2 separate regions of the Homo sapiens genome follow, and region 2 is linked to region 1. The links are contacts of gene promoters, found by promoter capture Hi-C in human tissues and cell types (Jung and others, 2019). All regions are on one chromosome and are shown on one strand. Each heading gives the region's core, a stretch centred on a gene start or on the middle of the fragment in contact. The rest is flanking DNA. Distances are from core to core; before and after follow the strand shown.

Region 1 (6,708 bases), core at 91-2,590:
GTATGTGAGCCAAGGATGCTTCCCAATGTCCAGCTCTCTGGAGTTCCTGGGACTGCAGTTTTCCAGCCCAGTTTCAATAGCCACCCTGGATAGGCTGTCTGCCTGGTCTTTTTTTGTTTTTTGCAGCCTTGGCTGAACCAACCCTTGGCGAGGCGACGCGGAGCCGGTAGTCTAGCCTATCTGCAGAGCAGTGCTCGCCCAGGAGAGGCCACAGAAGGGGCGTGCACCCGCGAGAGCGCGCAGGGCATTGCCTCGGTTGAGTGCGCCCGGGTGCGCAGGGCGCACCACTAGACGAGTTCAGGGTCCCTGGCGCTCAGCCCCTTGACGGGTGAGGCTAGGATCCCGCGGCGGCTGCAGCTACAATCAATGCTCTCTCTGTCCCGGGGTGGAGCTGCTGCCCTGAGCCAGATCCAGGAGGAAGGGGGGTCGGCATCTGGCTTTTGAATCGAGGACTCTTGTTTGAGATGTTGTGCGGGCTTGGGATCTAGGAGGGGAAGGGGGAGCAATGGCCAGAGCAAGAAAGGGAAGAAATGGGTCTGGGGCTGGAGAGGGTAGAAGAGCCAGGGGAGGGGTGGAGAGCGGCTGGGGAGGTGCAGTCTGTATTCATTTCCTCTGGTCTGTGTCCTCAGGCGGCTCCAGACCCAGAGAAGGTCTGCTCTTCCTCCCTCTCAAGCCCCCGGCGGGCCTCATCCTTAATCCATTTCCGTATTCCAATCCTCTCCTTTCCCAAATGAGTCCCCCTTCCCCCTCTCTCATCCTTTTCCAGCTCTCCCCTCCCCCGTCCGCCCGCCTTCCACCCAGTCCCCGCCTGCGGCACTGCGGCTTCCTTCTCCTCCGGTGCCCCGCACCCAGCCCGCCGCGAGGTCACCCGGCAGATTCCCTCTAGCTCGCCATCCTCCATCCTCTCCCCGCAGTTTCATCCGTCCTCCTCCCCGCCTCTGCGAGCTGGGTTTGGGGACGTCTGGGTGGAATGTAGACCCACAGGCTGTCCTTGGTGCCCTTCCTCCCTGTTCTCCAGCGCCCCAGCCCCAGACACCAGTCCCCCAGCGGGCGAAAGCCCGGGAGCGCCTTCCCCGAAAGACATCAGGGTGCCACGCGGCCCCTGCCCTGCAGAAGCATCCCCCTCCCGCCCCTGCCTGGAAAGCAGGCCCCTCCCTAAGCTCTGCGCCCTTCTTCCCTGGGCGCCCTCGGACCGTGGCCCGAAGCCTAGTGTTGGGAAGTCTTGCATGGGCGCCTGACGGCGGTCCCCGAGCCCCAGGTCCCACCGGCTCCAGTTCCCACCTGGACTGGGGTCTTCCGCTGCTGCAGCCTCCTCCAGACGCGCCGCCGCCTCCGGTTGCTGCACCCAGCTCGGAGCCCGCAGTTTTCACCGGGGATGGAGGAGAGGGGGAGCGGGGAGCCGGGGGCTCAGCCAATCAGAGGCGGAGATTGGGGGAGAAAGGACGGCAGGGTGGGGTGGGGGGTGGGGAAGGAAGAGAAGGCGGTCCCGCATTGGTGTGAGAGTGGCAGGTTGCGGCGGAAGGGGGCCCTCACCCTGTGGCTGGCAGGCCTGGCCAGGGACGGGAGGGTTCGGGACCCCGGGGATCAGGGTGCGGCAGCCCAAAGAACATTATCCTCCTCCCTGAGCCCCGCAATGGTTGTTCCCCTTTTAAGGCTTTAACCCTTTCTTCTGACCTATTCTTCAGGAGTCTGTGGGAAAACCAAAGTGTAAGAGGTGCAGGATGCAGGCCGGGAGCGCCCACGCCTCCACATTTCCTTTTCAGCTGGAGCCCACCTCCTCCGGAGCCTCCAGTGAGAAGTTTTGGAATATTCCAGTCTTTCTGAAAGGAAGCTGGTTGGGTGTTTTTCAGTGTTGGAGCAGCCCTTCGGAAGCGAGGCAGGTGCTGGACCCACCCTGTCCGTCCCTGGTCCCCAGCCCCATTTCGCCCCCTCATCTATTCCAGAGCACCCAGCCCTTCAGGGGGCTGCAGGCGCTTTTTGCTCTGGGCATTACGTCTTCTTCAGCCCCTGGGCTGGCACCTTCTGGTCCAGACAGCTGGAAGGTTCTTCTGGCTTTCCTGAGTACAGTCTGCTTGTTTGGTCTTCAGACCAGGAAGGGAGTGTTGCCTTTTAGCAGGCACTGTGCTGGGCACATTACATTCATGGCGACCTTTAACCCATGGCCGCCTGCTGGGTTCATCCCATCTCAATCCTCACCTCCTGTCTTGGCTGGTAAGTGGGAGAGCTGGAGAACTGACCTGGGCTATGGACCCCAGCTCTCAAGGGTGAGCCATTCCTCTTGCTCATCCCTGCCTAGTGGGAGAAGAGAGAGAGGAACTCTGGGAAAGAGGAGGAGACAGCACAAAAAGGACTGAGTCGAGGCCAACTCCTGATCACCTGGGGCACTCCTGATAACCCACCGATTGGATGTCACCAGAAGCCCTAGGCTCATTTTTAGAGACAGTGCTGATGACTTTCTCTCACTCACAGGTGTAGTGAATTTTTTTGAACTAACGTTTATTTGATTGATTTGTATCCTGCCAGCCTCTTTATGAATTCTGATCACGACATTCTGTGGGCCTCCCCAATGTCTGCCTGCCTGTTCTCCTATTTCTTCATGGAAGTCAGCCCTGGCACCTTCCCTGCAGTTTCTGATACTGCAGTGGCACTGTTGGAAGCCACTGTTGGAAGCTTGCAAGTGGGAGGAGATTCGCTTGGTTTCCCAGCATTTAGGGTGATGGAACACTCTAACTGGAATGAGCCTTGCAGATGGTTAAGTCCAAAGGAGCTATTCACTTTGGTAAACTGCAGAGGTTTCTAGGGCATTTTATGAAAAATGCAGCTGGCCTTGCCCACCTAGGACCTCCTTAATCTAGTACTAGAGCCAGCTGAGTCTGCACTTTTCTCACGCTCCCCAGGATCTGGGGACTCTAACACATGATCTGGTAAGACTGTCCCTCTTCATAGGTGAGCTAACCTGGCTTCTTGTTTGTAGGATACTTTTTAAGGCCATGAATGTCCTGGCCCCTGGCTGCTGACTTCCCTCCTCCCTCCAACTCCATCCCAGCCATCTTCCCATTCATCTACCTGATGCATTCCAGACACACTGGCTCTGGCTTCTGTCTGCCTCTTCATGGCAGCGCACTCCTTCCTGCTTAACAGCTTTCTGATTCTGAGTCCAGGGATCTTAACTGCAGAAGGCATCTGGGCTCTGCTGGCTGAGGCCCTGGATGCTCCGTTTCCCACTCTTTGGCCCTGTCTCTGAGTGTTGCTGGGTGGAAGGCCTAGCAGTGCTATTTTGATAAGGTTATGAGGACCTGGCCTAATTTCTGGGTCCCCAAGCACCTTGCTTTTAGGCAGGGGAGGGGAGTATAGACTGTAGAAGGTGTGGCAATTCTGTGTCTGCCAAGCAAGATCTCTGATTGGATGGAATTAATGGCTCTGATTAGACATCTGAGGTCAGGGGATAGAGCACAAGGTGGTGGAGGGAGGAGATTTTAAAACTCCATTTACTGTGGATAGGATCGGAGTGCTGAAACCAGCAAGGCTTTAGAGGAATCCAGCTAAGGCAAGACTTCCTGCCAGAAGACTGCGGCTGCCCTGTTGGTCTCTTAGATCTCTCTTTTCCCACCATCTCCTGTTTTCCCACCCAGAAACATATGGGGATAAAAACTCTTCTAAAAACACACAGTCCTTTAGCATGACCTAGGGACTGCCAGCCATTCCCTCATTTCATCAGATTGTCTTTCTAGAATCACAGAGGTGACTACAGTGGTCCCATCTTTTAAATTTTATTTTATTTTATTTTTGAGCCAGGGTCTCACTCTGTTGCCTAGGCTAGAGTGCAGTGGTGCAATCACCACTCACTGAAGCTTTGACCTCCTGGGCTCAAGTGATCCTCCTACCTCAGCCTCCTGAGTAGCTGGGACAATAGGCACTTGACACTATGCCCAGCTAATTAATTTTTTTTTTTTTTTTTTGTAGAGATGGGATCTCACCATGTTGCCCAGGCTGATCTTGAACTCCTGGGCTCAAGTAATCCTCCCGCCTGGCCTCTCAAAATGCTGGGATTACAGGTGGGAGCCACTGCACCTGGCTTGCCCCACTATTTTATAGCTGGGACTTGAGGCCCGAGAAAGGTAATGATTTGTCAAGGTCAGACAAATATTTTGAAGCATGGTCTGGACTATTAGATCTTAAGTCTCCTGACTCCATGTTCCCACTGTGCTCTCCAGTGCTCCCAGGGCGGACCCTCAGATCTCTGCTAGACTCATTTCCCTGGTTCACGGTGAAATAAGTAAAACGAGGACAGTCCGGGGTACTCTGAACATAGCTGTCAGGTTATCACCTTGTTTTGATTTTATGTTCTTCACCCTGTTGATGAGGGAGAGATTCCCATCCCCTAAAGTTAGGGGGATCACATGACCTCAACACTGGACGAATGAGAGCAATAGCAGTTTATTAGTCACATATGCTCATACCTGGGAGGATAACACTGCACGCCATGAACTGCTTCATGGGAGTTGCACTCAGAAACAGGTATTACCAGGAGCTGTGGGAGGCAGGCTTTGTAATGTCAAAACGGTGGAATGCCCCCGTTTCCTGTAAGAGAATGTGATTGGCTGTTTGCATAATTCTGTGGGCTGGCAGGGTGCTGAAGCCCAGTACTCAGGGTTAAGCAGAAATTGTGCCTGGCCCCCACAATAAGGAGGGTGGTTTGGCTGGGGGACCTCATCAGCAAAGTAGGGAGGGGATCTTGTAATTAGGCCATTTGAGGTCTCCCTGATATCAAGGCAGCCATAATACTGAGCTCTAATCTTTGACTAATTGAGACTATACACCTGCCTTTCCTATACTTTCATTCTAAGGTTATACCTTTCCATTTTTCTGAAGAGATGGTGGTATTGATATGTGTGTATGTGTGGTTTTTAATGTCCTACTTTATATATAAAAAAAAGAAAATTGGTAACTTCCTGTTAACCCTCACACTTCTTTGGAAATGTGACTAAGTCTATGAAATTAAAATATCTTGGAACTGCTGCTCTACACTCCGCTACCTCTCCTAACCTCTAGTCGAGGTCAACTTCCTGAGCAAGGTCAGCTCCCTGAAGAACTGCATATTTGGTTGGAGAATGTGACAAATACAAACTAAACATTATTTCTTGGAATGCAGGGCAGAAGTTGAGAGAAGGCACCAATGGAGACACTTTAATCTTTGATAGTTATTTTAAAAACTTTATTCATGGATGGTTTAATTGACCAAATAATTAAGACATTATTGGTACCAATAATGTTCCAAGGCACGGGGCTAGACGCTAGGTATACAAAGATTAGTAGAACACCATCTCAAAGGCTTGTTCCAATGGGGGAAACAGAAATGATACATAGATAATTAGAAAAAAGAGGGTAGACACAGAGGTAGAGACGTGTAAAGGGTACTGTGGGAGTCCAGAGGAGGGACAGGTGATGACCCAATCTGTCAGAGAGGGCTTCTTGGAGGCCAGGCATGAACTGAGCTTTTAAAGATAAATGGGAGTTGCCCAGGTATGGTAGACTGTCACATCAATGGCCTCCAGTGAGTCATGCCCCCCCCCGCCCGGTGTCCATGCTTTTGTGTAATCCCTTCCGTGCTGATTCTGGGCTTGGCCACGTGCCTTGCTTTGGCCAATGGGCCATCAGCAAATGTGATGAAAGCAGAAGCTTGTGAAATGTTTGTACGTTGGAGCTTGCTTTTTTGGAGTTCAGTTGCCACTTGAGGGAGTCTGAACTATCTCAGTTTACATCAATCACCATTTGGGATCTGCCAGCCCCCAGTTGACCTGCCATGGGACCACACAGGCCTGTGACCTGCCATGGGACCACACAGGCATGTGACCTGTCATGGGACCACAAAAGCATGTGTAATTCCAAGTGATGCCATACAGAAGAGAAATGAGCCACCCAGATAAGGCTACCGTGGTGATTCTAAAATGTGGACACAAATTCTTTGACATTCCTTCATCAAGAGGTGACATCTAGGCCGGGCGCGGTGGCTCATGCCTGTAATCTGAGTACTTTAGGAGGCTGAGGTGGGCGGATCATGAGGTCAGGAGATCGAGACCATCCTGGTTAATACAGTGAAACCCCGTCTCTACTACAAATATAAAAAATTAGCCGGGCGTGATGGCGGGTGCCTGTAGTCCCAGCTACTCGGGAGGCTGAGGCAGGAGAATGGCGTGAACCTGGGAGGCAGAGGTTGCAGTGAGCCGAGATGGCAGCCACTGCACTCCAGCCTGGGCGACAGAGCGAGACTCCGTCTCAAAAAAAAAAAAAAAAAAGAGGTGACATCTATGTCCCCTTGTCTTAAATCTCAGTGGGCTTGTGACTGCTTCAGCTAATAGAGTAGGACAGATGTGATGCTAAGAGACTTCTGCACTGAGGCCTTAGAAGGCCACATAGCTTCTATCCTTTTTGCCAGAACACTCACTCTTGGAGCCAACATGGAAAACATCTGGCTATCCACCTGCAGCCACCATGCCTGGCTCCAGGCAATTTCAAGTAAGGAGGGACTCTTTGGTGGCTGGAACAAGGGTGACTCAGGTAGTGGTGAAACAACTGGCAAAAACAAAATTTCTCGTGGCAACTTAGACAACAGAAGAAGTGCTTAATGAATTTGTAGATTTGGCTAAAGGGACCTGGAGACAGAATGCTCCAAGTGTCATTTGGGTGCTTCTAGTTGGCATGATAAAG
Region 2 (5,969 bases), core at 2,190-4,689, 150 kb before region 1:
TATGATGATAAATATACTTGATAAATACACCTGCAAAGCAGGAAATAATACATTGGTTTCCTAACATTTTTTCTTCCGTGATAGAGTGATTATAGCAGTGCATAAGTTCTTACACTTATTTGTTGAATTCTCTTACCTGTCATCCTAAAAAAGTAAATTTGTCCATGTTCATGCTTAGCTATTAAGCTTTATTAATTCAAGATTAAAAGCTTTAAGATATATGACTAAATTTTTTCTCTTGTTTACTTCATAATATCTATTTGAATGGAGGAGATACAAGTGGAGGCAGTGAATGCAACAGTATTTCTTCATTGTGTTTGTATCTTTCATATGATCTTACAGCAAAAAGTTTCTAAAACCCTTCTTTAAATAAAGAACAAGATCACTGAATATGTAACATCCTCAACAGCGCATTTCTTTTCTCTTCTCTACTTTTTTATATCCTTGAATAATACTGGCCAGAAAGAATATTTGAAGAGGTTCTTTCTAAATGTATTTTAATATTCATGTTAATTATACATCTTGTATGGTGAATTTGGTGCATTTAAAATAAAAATAATTTTATGTGTTTAATTATTGCATTCTGATCATTTGTAGGCGAAACCTAACCAAACTGTCCCTCATCTTCAGCCACATGCTGGCAGAACTAAAAGGAATCTTTCCAAGTGGACTCTTTCAGGGAGACACATTTCGGATTACTAAAGCAGATGCTGCGGAATTTTGGAGAAAAGCTTTTGGGGAAAAGTAAGTCTCAGAATAATGAATTTGAACTATGAAAAACTAAAGCTTACGAGTTTTTTCTTTACTTTTTTACTAATGAAATATTTAAAATTTGGGAACTCTGAGAAAAGTAATATATGTGTATGTATTTCCTGGCTTTGGTTAAATATTAAGTTTTTGCTCTGTTCATTGTTTTTAAAAAATAGTTTTGCAGATTAAATTGAAACCCATGCTCTTTGAATACTCTTCCCTTTCTCTCCCCATCCATTGTGGTTTCTTTTTGAGACGGAGTCTTGCTCTGTTGCCCAGGCTGGAGTGCAGTGGTGCGATCTCCACTTACTGCAAGCTCTGCCTCCTGGGTTCATGCCATTCTCCTGCCTCAGCCTCCTGAGTCGCTGGGACTATAGGTGCCTGCCACCACGCCCGGCTAATTTTTTGCATTTTTAATAGAGACAGGGTTTCACCACGTCAGCCAGGATGGTCTCGACTTCTGACCTCGTGATCCACCTGCTTCGGCATCCCAAAGTGCTGGGATTACAGGCGTGAGCCACCATGCCCAGCCCCATTCTGCTCTTAATGGACATGTACATTTCACATTATTTGCTATCAGCAGTGAGCAATATCTAAGTTGTCTTCATATGCAAGAAATTGTCTTTATTTACATACGCAGGAGTGGAATTGCTAAGTCTTGGGGTTTTACATCTTTTGCTTTGCTAAGTATTGTCCAATTTCTTTCCAAAATGGTGTACCAGTTCATATTTTACAGTAGCCCCACAGTTTGGCTAACGCTGGCGATGTGAATTGGTGTAATATTTTGCTTTATATTCCCTGATGAGAAGGGAGATTGAGCTTCTTCTCACCTTTATGACCAGTCAAGATTCTTATTCTTACTTGCCTGTTCCTATTTCTGATTTACCCATTTTCTTATTGAGTGGTTTATCTTTCTGTTATTATAGGTTACTAGTTCTTTGTTAGATACTTACATTACAAATATCTTCTCCCAGTCTGTGGCTTACCTTTTCCGTTTTGCTGTATTGTCTCTCTATATATTATATAGGTTGATTTATGCATCAAGCTTGTATTTTTAAGTATAAATATAAATATCCTAGGTTTTGTCGTTTTATTTTTTTTTTTTTTTGAGACAGGATGTCACTCTCTTGCCTAGTCTGGTGTGCAGTGGTACAATCAATCATAGCTCATCGCAGCCTCAAACTCTTGGATTCAAGCAGTTCTCCCAAGTAGCTGGGACTACACGTGTGTGCTGCCAGGCCCAGCTAATTTGCAGAGACAGGATTTTGCTGTGTTACCCAGGCTGGTCTCGAAGTCCTGGCCTCAAATAATCTTTCCCCCTGGCCTCTCAAAGTACTAGGATTACAAGCGTGAGCCACTGTGTTAGGCCCAAGTTTCTCTTTAAAGGCCTTCATTTTTGGCCAGGCACAGTGGCTCACTCCTGTAGTCCCAGCACTTTAGGTGGCCAAGGCAGGAGGATTTCTTGAGGCCAGAAGTTTGAGACTACTACCCTGGATGACATTACAAGACCTGGTCTTTATTTGTAAATTATTTTTTATTTTTCTTTTCTTGTTTTGCAGCAAGGTTTCACTCTGTTGCCCAGGCTGTAGTGCAGTGGCACGATCTCACTTGCAACCTCTGCCTCCAAAGTTCAAGTGATTTTCCCCCCTCAGCCTCCAGAGTAGCTGGAACTAATTAGTCTGGCTAATTTTGTTTGTTTGTTTGTTTTTGTAGAGACAAAGTTTCACCATATTGCCCAGTCTGGGCTCAAGCAGTCTGCCCACTTTGGCCTCTCAAAGTGCTGGGCCTCCCAAAGGCATGCACCATGGCTCCTGGTCCCCTTCTTTCTTTTCTTAAAGAAGTTGACCTGTATTTTGAATTACGAGAATTGAAATTGGTATTGAGAGCTTAATGTGGCTCTCCTTCCTTTCCTTGATTATGGCGATGCCTGGAATTATCTCTGTTATTTCACTTTATGCCTCCTCTCCACCCCCTCCCCAGGACAATAGTCCCTTGGAAGAGCTTTCGACAGGCTCTACATGAAGTGCATCCCATCAGTTCTGGGCTGGAGGCCATGGCTCTGAAATCCACTATTGATCTGACCTGCAATGATTATATTTCGGTTTTTGAATTTGACATCTTTACCCGACTCTTTCAGGTAGGACACTAAAAAAGTTGACTAAACTGGTTACTGCTACTTCGGTGAAGAGAAAGCTTTTTTTTTTTTTTTTTAAATAACATTTGGGGTTTTTGTCTGTATGAAAGTATTTTAATTCATTTTAGGAACTATGCCAAAAAAAAGATTAAAACTATCTCATATTAAAAATATATGTATGTGTGTGTATGTATATATAGTGAAAATGACAGCTATACCAACTGCTTTCTTCTCCTCACATCTTTCCTTGTTATTGAATATTCTTCTTTTGTATCATTTTAATGTTTGTAGAATGGCCAGAATATGAATATATTAGTTTTCTGATATTGGATATTTGTGTATGTTTGCAACTGTTTCTCCTGTTTTATTGAAATTGACTGTTAATATTGAGATGTTTAGATGCTTCAAAAACAACTCCTTTCTTTTTCTCTAAAAATAATGCTTTCTCTGGTGTTGTCTGTGCCAATTTGCATACACATTTATTTGGAACTTATTAGTTGCACCTATAGGCCCTATCCTGGTTTTCAGTTTGTTGTTGTTCAACCCCACTACTGTTAATTAGAGCTGCTTTACAAATTCTAGAATTTTCATTTTGTGTCAAGTTTCTCCCTATAAGCATATATTCTTTTCTTCGTAGCTTTTCAGAGTTTTTAATCTCCTGAACACATGTGTCTTCTCTCTGAGTGATGGTATAATTAAAAATTTCTGACAATGAACTGAGAGTTGGTGTTGTTTTTTTTTTTTCTCATTGCCCTCTGAGTTGGTTGTACATCTGACCTGAATAGTCTGTGATTGATCTTGTTTCTTTAGCCCTGGTCCTCTTTGCTCAGGAATTGGAACAGCCTTGCTGTAACTCATCCTGGCTACATGGCTTTTTTGACGTATGACGAAGTGAAAGCTCGGCTCCAGAAATTCATTCACAAACCTGGCAGGTCAGTTCAATGACGCAAAGAGATTTATTCTTCTGAATTTCGTTATCTTGAGACTTCTGCTAGTATAGAAGAAACATGACCTTAATTAGTTTCGCAATAGCCAAGGTTCTGCAATAGGATTGATACCTGTTTATCAGACGTATTGACTTAATTCAGATCCTATAATTTGATAAATGTTTTCAGGCCACTTAAGAATTGAATTTATGGCCGGGCACAGTGGCTCACGCCTGTCATCCCAGCACTTTGGGAGGCCGAGGCGGGCAGATCACGAGGTCAGGAGTTTGAGACCAGCCTGGCCAAAGTGGTAAAACCCTGTCTCTACTAAAAATACAAAAATTATCCAGGTGTGGTGCGGGTGCCTGTAATCCCAGCTACTCAGGAGGCTGAGGCAGGAGAATCACTTGAACCTGGGAGGTGGAGGTTGCAGTGAGCCGAGATCATGTCATTGCACTCTAGCCTGGGCAATAAGAGCGAAACCCCATCTCAAAAACAACAAAAACAAAAAAAGAATAGAGTTTATGTGTCTTTTGCTTCTGGTGTGGAGTCATGGAAGAAGTTACTCTCTTTTTAAAAATATTTTCTTTCTTTTTTCTTGTCACTGACTTGAAGCTCAGAAGTAGTTATTCTTGGCTGGGTGTGGTGGCTCACACCTGTAATCCCAGCACTTTGGGAGGCCAAGGTGGGCAGATACTTGAGATCAGAAGTTTAAGACTGGCCTGGCCAACATGGCGAAACCCCATCTCTACTAAAAATACAAAAATTAGCCAGGTGTGGTGGCACATACTGTAGTCCCAGCTACTCAGGAGGCTGAGGCAGGAGAATCATTTGAACCCAGGAGGTGGAGGCTGCAGTGAGCTGAGATTGTGCCACTGCACTCTAGCCTGGGTGACAGAGCCAGACTCCATCTTAAAAAAAGAAAGAAAGAAAGGAAGAAAGTTATTGTTATTCTTGATGGTTCTTTTGATTTTTGTCTGTATCTTGCCTTGCCTTCCACCGTAATACCAGCATAATCTACTAAAGCTTCTGTTTATGTCTGTTCATAGTTATATCTTCCGGCTGAGCTGTACTCGTCTGGGTCAGTGGGCTATTGGGTATGTTACTGCTGATGGGAACATTCTCCAGACAATCCCTCACAATAAACCTCTCTTCCAAGCACTGATTGATGGCTTCAGGGAAGGCTTGTGAGTACCTACTGCATACCATCTGTTAGAGTCTGGGAACTTAGGGGCTGTCCAACCTCATCATTAATGACTTTATTCCAGGTTTCTTAAACTGCAGACTAAGATTCAGGAAAATATTAACAGATGATATTGATTTGACCTTCAGGTCCTGGAAGACTTTTGTTTTTCTTTTTTAGGGATTCCATGAGTGAAATTATTCTCTACCACTTCAGTTATTACCATAAATAAACTTTATCTTTCTTTTTTCCAAATGTTAACTTATTTTCAAGCCTGTGTTAGGTTTTAAAATATACCAATTAGCAGGAAATTTGACCAGTTATTTAACTAGTCGGCATTCAAGTGATTCAATGTTCCTAATAGCCATAGGCCTCAGTGGCCTTCATCTGCTTTCATCCTCACTTCGCTTTTGTTCAGCAGCATTTCTTCAGGCCTTGGGCTACTGTAACCTATGCTGCTATTTATAACTAAGTCCTTATTTATTCCAGAATTGCTATTCCTTTGAGAATTCAAATTAATTATCAGTTGGTAAACACTTAAAAATACTAACAGTTGACCAGATGGCAGAAAACTAGCTTGTGTTTTGAAGTGATTAGGAAAATACATTTTATATTATACATTATCTTTTACTTACAATAGCATTGGGACTGAAAGGAGTGCTGCCCCAAATGTCAGAACAGTTTGATGCTAGAAACTGTGGATCTCCCTGGTAGATGATCTCAGTAGCTTAATTTGCATATTGTTACATTGCTTTTAAATTGGTGTCTCTCATTTTCTTAAACCTGTAAACCTTCTTTGATCAAAAGCAAATGCAGTTTAAACTAAGAAGTTAAGCCGGGTGCAGTGGTTCACACCTGTGATCCCAGCACTTTGGGAGGCCGAGACGGGTGGATCACCTGAGGTCAGGAGTTCAAGACCAGCCTGGCCAACATGGCAAAACCCTGTCTGTACTAAAAGTACAAAAAGTTAGCCGGA

The links. The method cuts DNA at HindIII sites, captures the fragments that hold promoters and counts their contacts. A contact is called where the count stands out against the background at its distance.
Region 2: a contact is called between a fragment that was not itself captured here and the fragment with the promoter of THY1 in region 1, in 1 of the 25 tissues and cell types used here (hippocampus).

Annotation. Positions count from the first base shown.
Region 1 is chr11:119,421,832-119,428,539 of GRCh38, forward strand. THY1 (Thy-1 cell surface antigen) reads right to left here and starts at 1,341. Exons shown (of 4, transcript NM_006288.5): 1 at 1,282-1,341. All of the region lies in intron 2 of USP2-AS1 (USP2 antisense RNA 1), which reads left to right. RefSeq lists enhancers at 87-653, 654-1,219. The HindIII fragment of the contact is 13,176 bases long and covers 1-4,765 here.
Region 2 is chr11:119,271,138-119,277,106 of GRCh38, forward strand. CBL (Cbl proto-oncogene) reads left to right here. Exons shown (of 16, transcript NM_005188.4): 3 at 598-744; 4 at 2,731-2,887; 5 at 3,695-3,816; 6 at 4,860-4,997. Among named protein-coding and RNA genes, the nearest start is that of MIR6756, 39 kb to the right of the region's middle. The HindIII fragment of the contact is 4,298 bases long and covers 1,291-5,588 here.